Regions from separate parts of the Homo sapiens genome. Here region 2 is linked to region 1. The links are contacts of gene promoters, found by promoter capture Hi-C in blood cells and fetal thymus (Javierre and others, 2016). All regions are on one chromosome and are shown on one strand. The core of a region is centred on a gene start or on the middle of the fragment in contact, and the rest is flanking DNA. Distances in the headings are between cores, read along the strand shown. Region 1 holds the start of MGAT5B (alpha-1,6-mannosylglycoprotein 6-beta-N-acetylglucosaminyltransferase B). Region 2 holds the start of SEPTIN9 (septin 9).

Region 1 (7,089 bases), core at 1,735-4,234:
GATTCAGTAGGCAAGACCGCGCAAGGGACACTTTCCTTAGCGCAGAGGGACGCCTCACGGAATTCCACCAAGCCTGGGGGTGGGGCTCAGATCTTGGGGTCCCTCAGAGGAAGTCAGGTGGCTCTGGAGACAACAGCCACGGCCATGGCACAGGAGAGGTGCTGTCCCATGCTCAGGGAGATCCCAGGGGAAATCAGCTATTTGTCCTCCCAGTCTGAGGACAAGGACGGACTTCCCCCACTCATGTCTCTAGTCCCTGGAGAAGAGGCCAGGGGAGTGAAGGAGTTGTATTTAGAGCTGGGGACCTGGGCTGCCTGCCAGGATCCAACAACCCTGCTATGAGAAAGGTGTCTACCCCCTTCAGCCCAGAACCTGAAGCCCCCTAACACACCTCATCTGCATCTCCCTCTGCCAGAACCCCATCCTGGGGTTCAATGTCCCCCAAGGCAGCTGGGGGCCATTTGGAGTGGATTCAAGTTAAAATGGCTTCAGCCATCCATGTATCCACTCAAGCAACATTCCAGGGGCACCTATGGAATAAAGACCCTGCCAGCAGCCCTGGGAAAACCACAGGGAACAGGACCCCAGCCTGCCTTTGAGGATGAATAAGCTGGGGTGCTATGATTGCAGCCTGCCCCCCACCTCAACTGAAGGGACTCACTGATGGCTGCGGGTCTCCGGGCAGCCCAGGGAGACCCTGGGGTGAAGTTACACAACTTTGGGGACCCATGCACCTCCACCCCCAATCCTGCCTTCAGATAAGGGCCTGAAAGAAAACCAGGGCAGGACCAGACAGGGAAGCAGCCCTGGGTCGCGAGCACTGTCCGTGGTGCTGGGGTCTCGCGGCTGCTTCCAATCGCGCCAGGAAACACCCAGCGGCCCGGAGGGCGGGACAGGGATGGGGTCGGAAGGGGCGAGGACCCTCCAGCGTTCCCAGTCAGGCCAGGGATTCAAGGCCTTCCCTGGAGGAGCAAGGCCCTTTCCAGAGACGCCTGCTTCCCGCCCTGCTTCCCATGGGCTCCCGACGCCCCCATCACCACCCACGGCCTGCACCAGCTCTCCGGGCCTCCCGGACCCCCGGACCGCAGAGGTCCAGCCTGACCCCTGCCGTCCCCTGGGGTTGCCTCCTCGGCCCAGCAGACAGGCCCGGTGTGCTGGGAGGCGGGCTCCAGGTGAGCCACCGTCTCCCCGCCCCCATCCCCGTCTGGAGCCGGCAGGGGGACCACAGTGGGGCTGGGCCGAGACCTGGAGGGCAAGAGTTCAGGGCCCCTGCAAGCTCCGCCTTCTCGGGCTCCTTCCCGCGCCCGGAGCCCACCTGTGGCCACGTCCCGAGTCCGGCCCCCGCGCCGGGGCGGTCACTCCCCCAGCTTCCTCGCTGCCCAGCTACCCACGGGGTGACACTCGGGCCCCGCCGGGCGTCCACTGGGCAGCGCCCCCTCCCCACCCCGCTGCGGGCCGGTTCCGCGGATGCCTGGGAGGAGAGGGGGCTGCCCCGGCACCGCTGGGCCCTGGGGGCCCCTGGCTGGGTCCAGTGAGTCCCGCGCGGCCCCAGCCCTGCCTGGCCTGGGCCCCCAGGTGTTGGCCGCCCGAAGCGTGTCGCCTTCGCCACCGCCCGCCCACCACGCTCCGCCGCAGCCTCGGCTCCAGCCGCCCCGTAGCCCTGCAGCGCCGCCCCTGCCCCCGCCTCTCCGACGCCTGCGATCGGGGGCGAATCCTGGGATGAGCGAGTCCTCGCTCTAATCTCGGGACCCTCTCGTCGGAGCCAGGCCCGAGCCCCGCGGGGAGGAGAGCAGTGCCACCAAAGGCTGGGGAGAGGGTGGCACAGGCGGAGGGGTTGGGGGGTAGCCGACCTAGGGGCAGACGGGCGGGACGGGAGGGACCGGAGGGGGAGCTCCAAGGCGCCGCACACTAACTTTGCCACCCGGATGGGACCGTCCGCGGGGTGAGGAAGGACCCTGAGGGGCTGGGAAGGGGCGCGCAGGCTGGGGCAACTTTCTGGGCCCAGGACCACGACCTGGGGGTTTTCTGCCCCCATTCTTACCTCTGCACCCCGAGTCCTCTCCAACCCTGCCCAACTCGGGACAGGTCCCCGAATAACACAACCCTCCCCATCCGCACCCCGAACCCCAACGCCATCCGTTCCCCCAGCCCAGCCCCACTGGTCATCACCAGGGGTTGAAGTGTGAACCGCCCCCTCTGCCACCAGGACTTGAACGTTCGCAGGAACCGACCTCGCCCACCTCCACCCGGCGCCCCCCTGGGGAAAAAACCAACCAGGAGGGAACTTTACCGAAAGGGTCTCAGGGTGACCAGGCATCTTCTGACCATTATCTTCCCATCGGGGTTGACGGTGATCATTGTTCAAACTTGTTGGTGCGAGCAGCCGCGGGCGAGGCCGGACGCACCGTCCTGGGCCCAGCTCTCGCCGCGTCCGGGCCACGAACCCTCTGCGGGCCGAAGCCGCGTCCGAGCGAAGCTGGGAGCGCGCGGCCCGGTGGCCTCGCTGCTCAGGCCTGGGCGTGCAGCGGAGGGAGCGGCGCGGCTGCCGGAGGGCGGCGAGGGCGCCCGGCCGGGCCGTCTCTGCGTCTCCGCCCTCCCCGCTTCACATTTTGGGGACCGGGAGGCGGCGCGCCCCCAGACCGCCGGCCGCGCGTCTGCCTGCTCGGGCTCGCTCGCTGGGCGGGAAGGTGCCGCGGCGCGCAGACGGGCTCCCCGCGGCGGGCGCCCTCATCCCCGGCCCCGCGCCCTCGGTGCCGGCTAAAGGCGGCCCCGGGCCCGCGCCCCGGTCCCCAGCGCCTCCGGGCCGCGCCGATCCTCAGCCCCGCGCCGCGCCGCGCCCATGGCTCTCGACGAGGGCAACCCGCGCCCGCCGCGCGCTCTCTCGCCCGCTGGCTCCGCCGCCCGCGCTCTGGTGTCCGGCGTCCGGCCCCGCGCGACGCTACGCCCGGAGGCGCCGCATTGTTCCTCGGAGGAGGCGGCCGAGCGGCGCTGGGGCGGCCCGGGAGCTGCAGCTGCGCTTCCAAGGCGCGCCGGCGCCACCTCGTGGCCGCAGCCCCGCTGTGCGCCCTGCCCGGGGCCGTGCGGGGCTGGGACGCCGAGGACCAGCTTCGAGGACGGGCGGGCGGGGGTCCCTGCTCCTTCCCCTGAGCCAAGCAGCTTCCCAGGGCGCCACCAGCCCCGAGGGCCGAAAGCTGCTTTGGCTCCCGCAGAGCACAGAAGAGATGCGCACCCAGCGGAGACCCTTCTCTTCTGCCAGGTGCCTCCGTGGGCTTCCTCATCAGCCGCTTCCCACGATTTCGCTTGGCAACACATGCCTATCTTCTGCCCCTCCCTGGTCAGAAACTCCCGTGGCTCCTCTTTGCTTACTGATCTGAGTATAAACTCGGCCTGTGGTGCTGGGGCCCGCTCACAGAGCCAGGCGCAGGGGCGTACTGAGTTGTAGCCCCAGATCCTCCACTAGCCAGTGGGCGATCAAGTGTGCACGTCTCAGAGTCTCCATTATGAAATGATAGTGACCAGAAGCTCACCAAGGTCCCTTGCAACCCTAAAGCATGTAGGATCTCATGTCGTCTCTTAGCATCTAGGCGTCCTCCCCTCCCCCTCCTCGTACTTCCTGGCTCTGGAGATGTGTTTGCAGTTGCAGAGACAGAGACTCCTGGGAGCTCGCAGAGCCAGCCTGAAGAAAGCTCTCCGGCTTCAAAAGCACTTCCCGAGGTCATATCTGACCACCCCACCCTGGGAAGTGCCCAAAGCCTCAGTCATGTGTCAAATGACTCTGAGGGTCTTCCCAGCTCAGGCCACGATGCTGCAGCCTGGCTTATGCGAGGAGGAGACTTTATTTTCCTCCAGCTGGGCCTGGTCCCCTCCAATCCCCCATACCCAGGCCCCTTGCTGCCTGCCCTGCCCACCTCCCGGCCCCCTTCCTGGGCCATTACTCACTGGCCATGACTCACGCTCTCTGCTTTGCTGCTCCTTCTTCATCAAAATTTACCGGTGCTGAGTTCCATTATCTCACTGCCTTGCTCTCTGCTAATGTGAAAATGGGTGATAAATTGGTGTTAGCAGATATAATGTGTTACACAGGCTAGGTAACAAATTTGCATTGAACAAGGACATGCTGACCGTGCCTTTGTGCAGAAGAGTGATGAATGGTGGCCGGAAATTTGGGCATCGTGGCAGGCTGGCTAAGGAGATGTTGGAGGGCAGAGGTCTCTGCCAGGCCTGTAAATCACATCTCATGCCTGGGTGCCTACATCTGCCACAAATCCTGGCAATAAGCCATATCTACACTAAGGAATGAAATGGTCCTTCTGATTAGGTGTCTCTCTTCTGATTGGGGGTTCTTCTGATTGAGTAGGCTTAGGGGGTGGCATTTATATCTGGTTGCCATTTTAGGCCAAAGGGGAAGCCTCTTCCTCAGTGGTGGAGATGGGGTTCCCTAGAAGGCATGGCCACCTCTGGTGTGGGTCATCTGGGGAGGTGGCCTACCCTCCACAGAAGCCAGAATTTAGAAGGTAGGGGAAGGTACTCCCCTCTTCCCCTGGGCCACACACCCTTAGATCTGGACTTTGAAGTTGGAGCGGGAAAGCCTCTCTGCCATTTGACGGCTGGCTTGGGCCAGGGAGGGAAGCAAGCAGAGGACAGCCAGTGACTTTTTTTTTTTTTTTTTTTTTTTTTTGAGATGGAGTCTCGCTCTGTTTCCCAGGCTGGAGTACAGTGGCGCAATCTCGGCTCACTGCAAACTCCGCCTTTTGGGTTCAAGAGATTCTTCTGCCTCAGCCTCTTGAGTAGCTGGGATTACAGGCACGTGCCACGATACCTGTAATAAATGCCTATAAAAATGCAAAATTTTTGTATTTTTAGTAGAGACAGGTTTCGCCATGTTGGCCAGGCTGCTCTCAAACTCCTGACCTCAAGTGATCCGCTTGCCTCGGCCTCCCAAAGTGCTGGTATTACAGGCATGAGCCACTATGCTGGGCCAGCCAGTGGCATTTTGCAAGCCAGATTGTCCAGCTGCCTGTCCCTTTTGAAGTCTGTCCCCTTTTTTTGGCCTCTTGTCTGCAGTAAAGTTCAGTGTAAACAGTCCTGCTTGCTCTCCACTGTGCTGTAGGCATTAGGAGAAAAACTGTGAATCCCACATCATGCAGTCTTGGGTATAACCTCTTCATGCCTCAGTTTCCTCAACTATAAGTGGGGCTCCTTATAACCTGCTTCATAGAGCTGTTCTGAGGATTGAGCCGCTTAATGCAGGTAAGTAGCCCGTTGCCAGGACCTCCTGAGCCTTTCAAGCATGGTGGTTCTGATGGTTGTTACTGTCCGTCAGGAACAGATGCTGTTTGTGCCCAGTCCTGGTTCCCACTGCAGTCACCTCTGCAAGCTAAGAGGCAGATGACTGAGAACACCTTCAACTCTCTGCCTGAGGACTTTTTTTTAATGGCTGTGGGAATATGCTAGAACACAAAAGGGCAAGAAGAAAGGACCCTGGACAAAGGATCAACACCCTGGCAGCAGCCCTCAAGCAGTGGATAGACACCCCCACTCCCTCTTCCTAAGGGGGATACTCCGCGGCGTGTTACCCCGTGGCTCCCCAGGTTCCCAGCAAGTTTGAGCTCCAGTCACCCGTGGTGTAGCCAGCCCTGTGATGCCCCTGTGTTCACTCCCTTCCCTCCTGTCTCATTCCACTCCCCGGTCAATGTTCCTGGGGTCACCATCCAAATAAACCACTTGCAGAATCCTATTCTGAGCATCTGTTTCTGGGGGACCCACACCAAGATCCCAAGATCCTGCCTCATCGACTGGTGGTTCTCAGCCCAGATTCCAGCAGAATCACCTGCAGAATTTAGCAAAATTGTCCTTATTCTGATCCAGTACCTGAGGTGCAGCCTGGGCACGCTGGTGCATTGATGCCACAGGTTATGCCGACACAGGCAAGGTGGGGAAGCACTGTTCTAGACAAATACTTGTGGCCTCCTGAGGAGAAAGGAAAGTCTCTGGAAGCAAGCCAGAGAACAGGGGAGTAGGAACGGCGGCACCTGCTGCAGGGCCCGGCCAAGGACTGACGGTGGGCCAGGCGCCGTGACTCACGCCCGTAATCCCAGCACTTTGGGAGTCTAAGGCAGAAGGAATGCCTAAGCCAAGAGCTTGAGACAACCAGCCTGAGCAACATAGTGAGACCCCATCTCTACCAAAAACTTTAAAACTTATCCAGGTGTGGTGTCATGCACCTGTAGTCCCAGCTACGCAGGAAGCTGAGGCAGGAGGATCACTTGAGCCCAGGAGATCGAGGCCGCAGTAAGCTATGAGCGCACCACCGCACTCCAGCCTGTGTGACAGTGCGACGCCCTGTCTCTTATAAAATAATAAATAAATAAGGACTGACATCAGGTGTACCCATTTCCAAACCCCATCCCTCTTCACTGTTTCTCTCCTGAAGCTATCAACAGACCCACAACCAGCCAAATGCAGAGCAGGATGCACATTCACCCGGGTGCCCTAAATATAGCAGTTCCTGGCAGGGCGCGGTGGCTCATGCCTGTAATCTCACCACTTTGGGAGGCCAAGGCGAGTGGATCACAAGGTCAGGCATTCGAGACCAGCCTGGCTAACATAGTGAAACCCCGTCTCTACTAAAAATACAAAAAATTAGTTGGGTCTGGTGGCGGGTGACTGTAATCCCAGCTACTCAGGAGACTGAGGCAGGAGAATCGCTTGAACCTGGGAGATGGAGGCTGCAGTGAGCTGAGATCACACCACTGCACTCTAGCCTGGACCACAGTGCAAGACTCCGTCTCAAAAAAAAAAAAAAAAAAAAAAAAAGCCAGGTGCGGTGGCTCACGCCTATAATCCCAGCACTTTAGGAGGCCGAGGTGGGCAGATCATGAGGTCAGGAGTTCGAGACTAGCCTGACCAACATGGTGAAACCCCGTCTCTACTAATACAATAATCCCAGCTACTCAGGAGGCTGAGGCAGGAGAATCGCTTGAACCTGGGAGGCAGAGGTTGCAGTGAGCCGAGATTGTGCCACTGCACTCCAGCCCAGGCAACGGTGCAAGACTCCGTCTCAAAAAACAACAACAATAATAAAAAAAA
Region 2 (7,089 bases), core at 2,520-5,019, 410 kb before region 1:
TGGGAATGACGGCAAGTTCCATGTGACCTAGTATGCAAAGGGAGTCCCAAAACTCAGAACCTAGAGAGCCAGGGCGGGTACAGTGCAGCTGGCTCCAGTGCTGAGGGGCTGGGGGAGAGACCCTGCACCATGCTCTGACCACAGTAAGGGAAGATCATGGAGGCTTCTGGAACGTCCTAGCAATGGCGTAACCCCAGCCTTCTCCATCCTCCTGTCAATGACAATCATGATCATGACAGCAGCTAACAGGTTACAGAGCAGGCATTTCTCAGCTTTTTCAAATATGAACTCGTTTAACCTTTACAACAACATAGCACTGTCCCATTTAACAAATGAGGCAGGCTGGGCGTGGTGGCTCATGCCTGTAATCACAGCACTTTGGGAGGCCAAGGCAGGCAGATCACGAGGTCAGGAGTTCGAGATCAGCCTGACCAACATGGTGAAACCCCATCTCTAGTAAAAATATAAAAATTAGCTGGGCGCAGTGGCACGTTCCTACAATCCCAGCCACTCAGGAGGCTGAGGCAGGAGAATCACTTGAACCTGGGAGGCGGAGGTTGCAGTAAGCTGAGATCATGCCATTGCACTCCAGCCTGGGAGACAGAGTGAGACTCCGTCTCAAAAATAAATAAATAAATAAAATTAAAAAACACCACACACACAAAAAAACAAATGAGGCAAATGAGATGCATGAGGTGAGAACCTTGTGCCACAGGGAGAGGCGCAGCCTGGTGAGATTTAATCCCAAGGGGCTGGCGGCTCTGAGCCCCCAAGTGTAACCACTGGACCACACTGCCTGTAGACTACCACTACCTCCACCCCATTGGAAGGCCGGGTGAGGCAATCGGGAAAGCCTGGAGCAGCAGTGGAGCTGCCAGAGAGAACCTGTCCCCAGTGTCCCCCTGGATCCTGCAGCTGCCCTGTGTGGGCCCTTGCTGCCTTCCGCATTGGAAAAGACCTTCTTACAGATGGGGTCTCATGACGCCACCCAGGCTGGAGTGCCGTGTCTATTTCCAGGCGCTGTCACAGGGCTGCAGCCTTGAACTCCTGGCTTCAAGCGATCCTCCTGTCTCAGCCTCCTGAGTAGCCTCCTGGGCTCAAGCGATCCTCGTGTCTCAGCCTCCTGAGTAGCCTCCTGGGCTCAAGCGATCCTCGTGTCTCAGCCTCCTGAGTAGCTGGGACTTCAAGCGCACCTGGCCAAGTCCCTTTTTATTCTCCACTACTCAAGACTTCTCCTTCCTCAAGGCCCAGCTCAATCTCACCTCCACCTAAAACCTCCGGGGCATTCCTGTAGTATTTGGAGGCTGAACTGCTCAGGAGGGAAGGGTGTTAATGAGCTGGTGTCTCGCCCTCATCCTGACTCCCGGTGAGAATGTAAGTTCTCTGCAGGCAAGGACTATATCTCATTACCATTTCTGTACCCACTCAGACTTGGCCATGTGTGCCCAGCACATAAAGTGTCTTCGATGACTGTCTATAGACCCACGGTACTTGAGATTGCCCCAACACATCCTTCTAAAATCTTTCTCCTTTTCAGAGGCTCACGAATGTTCAAACCAGGTCTACCGGGAACAACATTATGGTCATTCCGTTTATTCTGAAGCCCACATACAGGTCTGGAAGCAATAATCCCGCACAGTCTAGATGAAAAAATAAAGACCTTCCTGTTGTCCTTGGATTGTCAGAGCCTTGGGGGATTTTTAACATCTTTTGCTGCTTTCCTTAATTTCATGGTGTCGATGGCTTGTTGGGGGGTCAGCCTGACTCCTGCGAGTGCCCGTACCCGGAAAAGGGCTGGTGCCAAGACAGCTCCAGGACACTCAGAATGAGGGCAAGAGGCCACCCCCACCATCAGCCCCCTCCAGTCCCACTCCATACAACTGCAACACAGTGACCCAGCACACCTTGGGCCACTGCCAAGCAGGGAGCAAACCAGAAATGGTCTGAGCCCTCCCTTCCCCCATCCTCAGAGGGGCCTGCCCCTTTAGGTAAACACAAGGAGGCACCGAGGCTGCTGTACAAGAGTTGGTTCCTGCTCACTCCACAAACTCTACTTCCACCTACTGCAAAAGGTTCTGTCCTTTTTTTTAAAAAAAAAAAAAAAAAAGAAACCCAGTGAGGGGTGGGGTAGGTGTGTGTGGAGGAGAGGAGAAAAGGACAAGTGATGGTCTCCCCACCTCCCAGTAAGCCGCAGGTGCAGAGACTCCAAGCCTGCCTCAGGGCCCTTCCGGCATCTGTGCAGGAGGGTCTCCGCAGAAAAAACCCAGGACCCACGACCTGGGAGGACCCCGGTCACCCCCACTGTCTGGACCCACCAGTGGGAGGTAAAGTGTAAGAAACCAAGGGCAAAGGGCCCTCCCTGGGCGGGCTAGAGATCCCCTGGAAAGGGCCATGCACCGCGCGATCCCCACAACAATCTCAAGTATTTGGAGCATGTTGGGGAGGAAGCCCCGGTGCCAAAACCAAGCATGTGCCACCTGGAAGCCCGCTCCCGCCCACCAGCACACCAACCCACCCACGCTCCTGACAGAGCTGTGCTCCGGGTGCGTAGAGGGCCATCTTGTTCGCAACAACCGGGTGAAAGTTGAAATTCTAAGCTACTGACCCAGAAGGGTATTTTCGGGGAAGTTCTGAGTAATCCTCTTTGAGACAAGGTACTTTATCACTCATTTTGGTTCCTAAATATGGAAAGCCAGAGGAAACCGACAATGGCCCAAAGGCAGGGGGATGGCCCCGATGACTCCTTCACCTCCAACTAAGGCCCATGATTCTGTTCTCCTATCAATAAAAATTAATTCATGGATCCTTGGCAGGTACCTTTCTATCTGAATGAATTAAAGGAGGGACATTAAACAAACGGTTTCTAGATTTAGAAGAGGAGACGCTATTTATAATTTGAGGACTGAGGAGGACAAAGGATCCTGCCTGCCTGGATCCTTTGGAGAAAACCACAAAGGAAAAAAAAAAGGAAGGAAAAGACAAATAATGAAGATCTGGATTTCTCTTAACCTGCCCTTGTGGCCTCGGTGTGCCCATCTGTGAAATGGAACTTCAGAGTGCCAGAGCGGGAGCCTCTTATGAAATGAAAGCTCCTGAACCGGCTCATGGTGAGGCCCAAGTCAGGCCCCCTTCGCCTACTTAAGGCGGGCCCTGCTAGGGTGGAGTGAGGATGTCAGCCGCGGGCGGCGTCCTGAGCGCAAAACGTGAACCCGAGTCGCCAAGTTTGGGCGCTGCTGGACGGTCCCATCTGGAGGCCGTCCCGTGCCCCACTAAGTAGAGGAGAAACCGAAGAGAATCCGAAGAAAGGATGCTGCGGCCTGGACCACCAGCCCTAGAGGCTGAACCCAAGGACACCCCTCCACCTAGCCCCGACCCCATTCACCCACACAGACGCACAGGGACCCAAAGCACCCGGCCGACCTGGAAAGTCAGCGATTCCTGCGAGGGTGCAAGGGGCGAGGAAGAGGGAGCGTCCCCCAGGGCAGCCCCTCCGACACTCGAGCAAGGGCTGGAGACAGCGCAGGGGACGGTCGGCTCAGGTCGAAAGCGGCCCGACAGCGGCCCTGTCCTGGGAGGAACTCGACCTGCAGTGTGCCCGCCGCGGGGACTCGCTCAGCTCCGGGGGCGCCTCGCCACTCCCGGCCGCAGGCACTCAGGTGAGCAGCGCTGGTCCCGGGACACCGACCCCTCCCCACCCCGGGCGCGAAGCCCACCTGAGTAAGACTTCTTCATGGTGCCTCCGTGGCCGCCGCTCCCAGGAAAGTGTGGCGGCGAGGCAGCGGGGCGCGCGCTCCCAGGGCGCTAATCCTGGGCCGGTAGTAGGAAGGCGGGAAGAGGGGGCGGCCCGCCGTCTGGAGTGCACCGACCGGGCCCCGCCCCGGCCCCGCCCCCGCCCCGCCCCTCCCCGGAGATGCGCATAGAACCCCGGCCCAGCCGGCTGTGGTCCCGCCCCTGACCCGCCCCCTCCCCGCCCCGTGAACGTGCGCGCCGAGCCCCACCCCCGCCCACCCCTGCGCTGCGCTGCACCTGGCGGAGCGGGGCTGGCGGGCGCCGGGCCTGGGAGGGGGCGCCCCCGCGCGGCAGCGCAGACCAGACCAGACCAGGCCAGGCCGGGGGTGGGGGCCGCCTGCGTGGCCCGCCGCGCCCGCAGCTCTGCACCCCCAGCTCCCCGCGCTGGCGCCAATGGCTGGTTCCGGGAGTCGCCGCACTTCCCAGTCCCGAGTCCGGGCGGGGCGGGCCCGGCCAGGTGGAAGCGGGCGGAGGTGCGGGCGCTCCGGGCGGCCCCGCCGGGCGAGGCGGCGGCGCCGGGCACCGCGGCGGCGCCGGGCACAGCCGGGGGTCGGAGCCGGGGTGCCGGCTTAGTGGGCCGGGGTAGGGCGGGACAGGACACCTGTCCTGCTACTTTTCTGGTAATCAAAAGGGCAGAGTGCGTCGATTGAGTTGGAGCCTTAGTTTCCTCACCTGTAAATGGGCGCGTTGGACAGATGATCATTTGTTCTCCCTGCGCTGGGCACCGTGCGCAGCTCGGTGTATCGGTGCAGCGGGGCAGACACAGGGAGCCGCCCTTTACAACTCGGGTAACGCAGGCAGTGGTGAGAGGATGCAAAACTTGCACGGAAGAATTCTCTCTACTTGGATATCCTTAAAGTCTCCACGATAAAGCGGTGTTTCCAACGTACAGAGGAAGAAGTGACTAATTATGACTGGAGGGTGGTGTCAGAGTTTTATTGAGGCGAAATCAAAACAGGGTTTTAAGGAATGAGCAGGAATTAGCCAGGCAGCCAAGGTGATGGAAGGCAGCTGTTCCCGAAAGAGGGAAGGGCGTGGCGGAGCCTGGGAGGCCTGAGGTATCACAGCGAGTGTGGAGAGACAGAGGCAGGGCCGGGCCCTTGCACAGCTGCCAATGGAGGCCGTAGAGGACGAGAGGAAGGCGGGAGGCCAGTTGGGAAGCGCTCGCTAGTTCTGGGTAGGGGCGCAGCATTGCCTTCTCCTGCAGCCCTCCCAAAAATGCACAGGAGGCTGAAAGTGTCACTAACAGCCCCGAAAAATCCTCCTCCTCTTCCCCTCTCCTTTACTCTCCTTGGGGGTCCAAGAAGCATTTTCATTTCCTGCCTGAGTGTGGGAAACTTATATGCATGAGAACGGAGGCCTATGTGGCACCGTGGGTTCGTTCCGGCCCACCTGCTTCCTTTCTTGAGTAATCTGTCCAGCCACAGCCCTGCAGAGGGAGCAGCCCAGCCAGAGGAGTTTCCCCTCACCCCAGGTAGAGCTGATTGGACCGGAGTGGACACTGGACTTCAACTGAGTCCACCCCTTTCCTTATCTGGGGGTTAGAGGCTCAGGAGGCCTCGGGAGGGAAGTGCTGTAAGGGAGGGGAGCAGGGAGTATGGACGAATTGTGAACAGCGTCCTGGATTCTGGGATGTCCACACCCTAACCGCAACCCCCACCCACACGCCCACTCACCGCTTGTACCAGCACCAGCAGATTCCGGCTTAGGCCGTGTCCTGACTTGGCCAGCAAGCACCATGATGACACTGCCCCCAGCCTAGCCATGATGACACTGCCACGAGCCTAATGCCTGGGATTCCCAAAGTCCAGCGGTGTCTCAAGAATCTGGGTTATGGGTGCATTGCTGGCTTTGTCCATTTTACTCAGCACAAGTCAGAGGTGCCCTGGAGCACAGTCACCCTGAGGATGCCAGCCCTGGCTGTTCCCTGGCTTTGGGTAGGTGGGTTCCTCTGCGGATGCTCACGCTTCTGCCTGGGGTCACAATTCACAGGAACCTGGGCACCCAGGACCCAAGGACACCTGCGTGGAGTGATGTTGGACACATCACATGGGTGCCTCCTGTGTGATGGTTCCTGGATATCCGAATTTTCCTTCCGATTCCAAGAAATCAGAAAGAAGGACAAGAGAGAGGGAGGGAAGGCTGGGAATGAGGGTTCTACACATTTTTGAGATGCATGAAGCTTAATCTGTCATGAAATTAGAGTTAAAAAAAAAAAAGAAAAATTAAAGAGATGCACGAAGCTTAATTGTTTAAGCCTCAAATTTTGTTTTTATTTATTTATTTTTATTTTTTATTTTTTGAGAGGGAGTTTTGCCCTCGTCGCCGAGGCTGGAGTGCAATGGTGCGATCTCAGCTCACTGCAACCTCTGCCTCCCAGGTTCAAGTGATTCTCCAGCCTCAGCCTCTTGAGTAGCTGAGATTACAGGTGCCCGCCACACCTGGCTAATTTTTTTTTTTTTGTAATTTTTTTCTTTTTTAGTAGAGACAGGGTTTCACCATGTTGGCCAGGCTGGTCTCAAACTCCTAACCTGAGGTGATCCCCCCGCCTCAGCCTCCCAAAGTGCTGGGATTACAGGTGTGAGCCACCGCACCTGGTTTATTTATTTATTTATGAGACAGAGTCTCCCTCTGTCACCCAGGCTAGAGTGCAGTGGCATGATCTCAGCTCACTACAACGTCCACCTCCCGGATTCAAGCAATTCTCTTGCCTCAGCCTCCCAAGTAGCTGGGATTACAGGCACACGCCACCACAACCGGCTAATTTTTGTATTTTTAGTAGAGACGGGGTTTTGCCATGTTGGCCAGCCTGGTCTCCAACTCCTGACCTCAAGGTGATCCACCTGCCTAGGCCTCCCAAAGTGCTGGGATTACAGGTGTGAGCCACTGCGCCTGGCCTATTTTTTTTTTATTTTTTTAATTTAATTTTTATTTTTTGAGATGGAGTTTTGCTCTTGTCACCCAGGTTGGAGTTTAATGGCATGATCTTGGCTCACTGCAACCTCTGCCTCCCACATTCAAGCGATTCTCCTGCCTCAGCCTCCCAAGTAGCTGGGATTACAGGTGCCTGCTGCCACCAGGCCCGATTAATTTTTGTATTTTTAGTAGAGATGGGGTTTCACCACGTTAGCCAGGCTGGTCTCCAACTCCTGACCTCAAGTGATCTGCCTGCCTTGGCCTCCCAAAGTGCTGGGATTACAGGCATGAGCCACCACACCCGGCCTAAGCATCAAGTTTTAATTGTTTTTCACAGACAACTCTCTAAAACATATGACACAATCCCCTGCCTTGGTGAGAAGA

Evidence for each region. Contacts are between HindIII fragments. The CHiCAGO score rates a contact against its expected background, and 5 or more counts as called.
Region 2: a contact is called between the fragment with the promoter of SEPTIN9 here and the fragment with the promoter of MGAT5B in region 1, in 1 of 17 cell types (naive CD8 T cells). The highest score is 5.7, in naive CD8 T cells.

Annotation. Positions count from the first base shown.
Region 1 is chr17:76,864,299-76,871,387 of GRCh38, reverse strand. MGAT5B (alpha-1,6-mannosylglycoprotein 6-beta-N-acetylglucosaminyltransferase B) reads right to left here and starts at 2,984. Exons shown (of 18, transcript NM_001199172.2): 1 at 2,291-2,984. The coding sequence starts at 2,358. RefSeq lists a silencer at 2,840-3,149 and an enhancer at 3,487-3,781. The HindIII fragment of the contact is 19,574 bases long and covers 1-7,089 here.
Region 2 is chr17:77,278,179-77,285,267 of GRCh38, reverse strand. It overlaps SEPTIN9 (septin 9), which reads right to left and starts at 3,769. Exons shown (of 12, transcript NM_001113491.2): 1 at 3,714-3,769. The coding sequence starts at 3,732. It overlaps SEPTIN9-DT (SEPTIN9 divergent transcript), which reads left to right and starts at 3,371. Exons shown (of 3, transcript NR_136503.1): 1 at 3,371-3,656. RefSeq lists a silencer at 3,275-3,438 and an enhancer at 5,040-5,687. The HindIII fragment of the contact is 6,769 bases long and covers 1-5,973 here.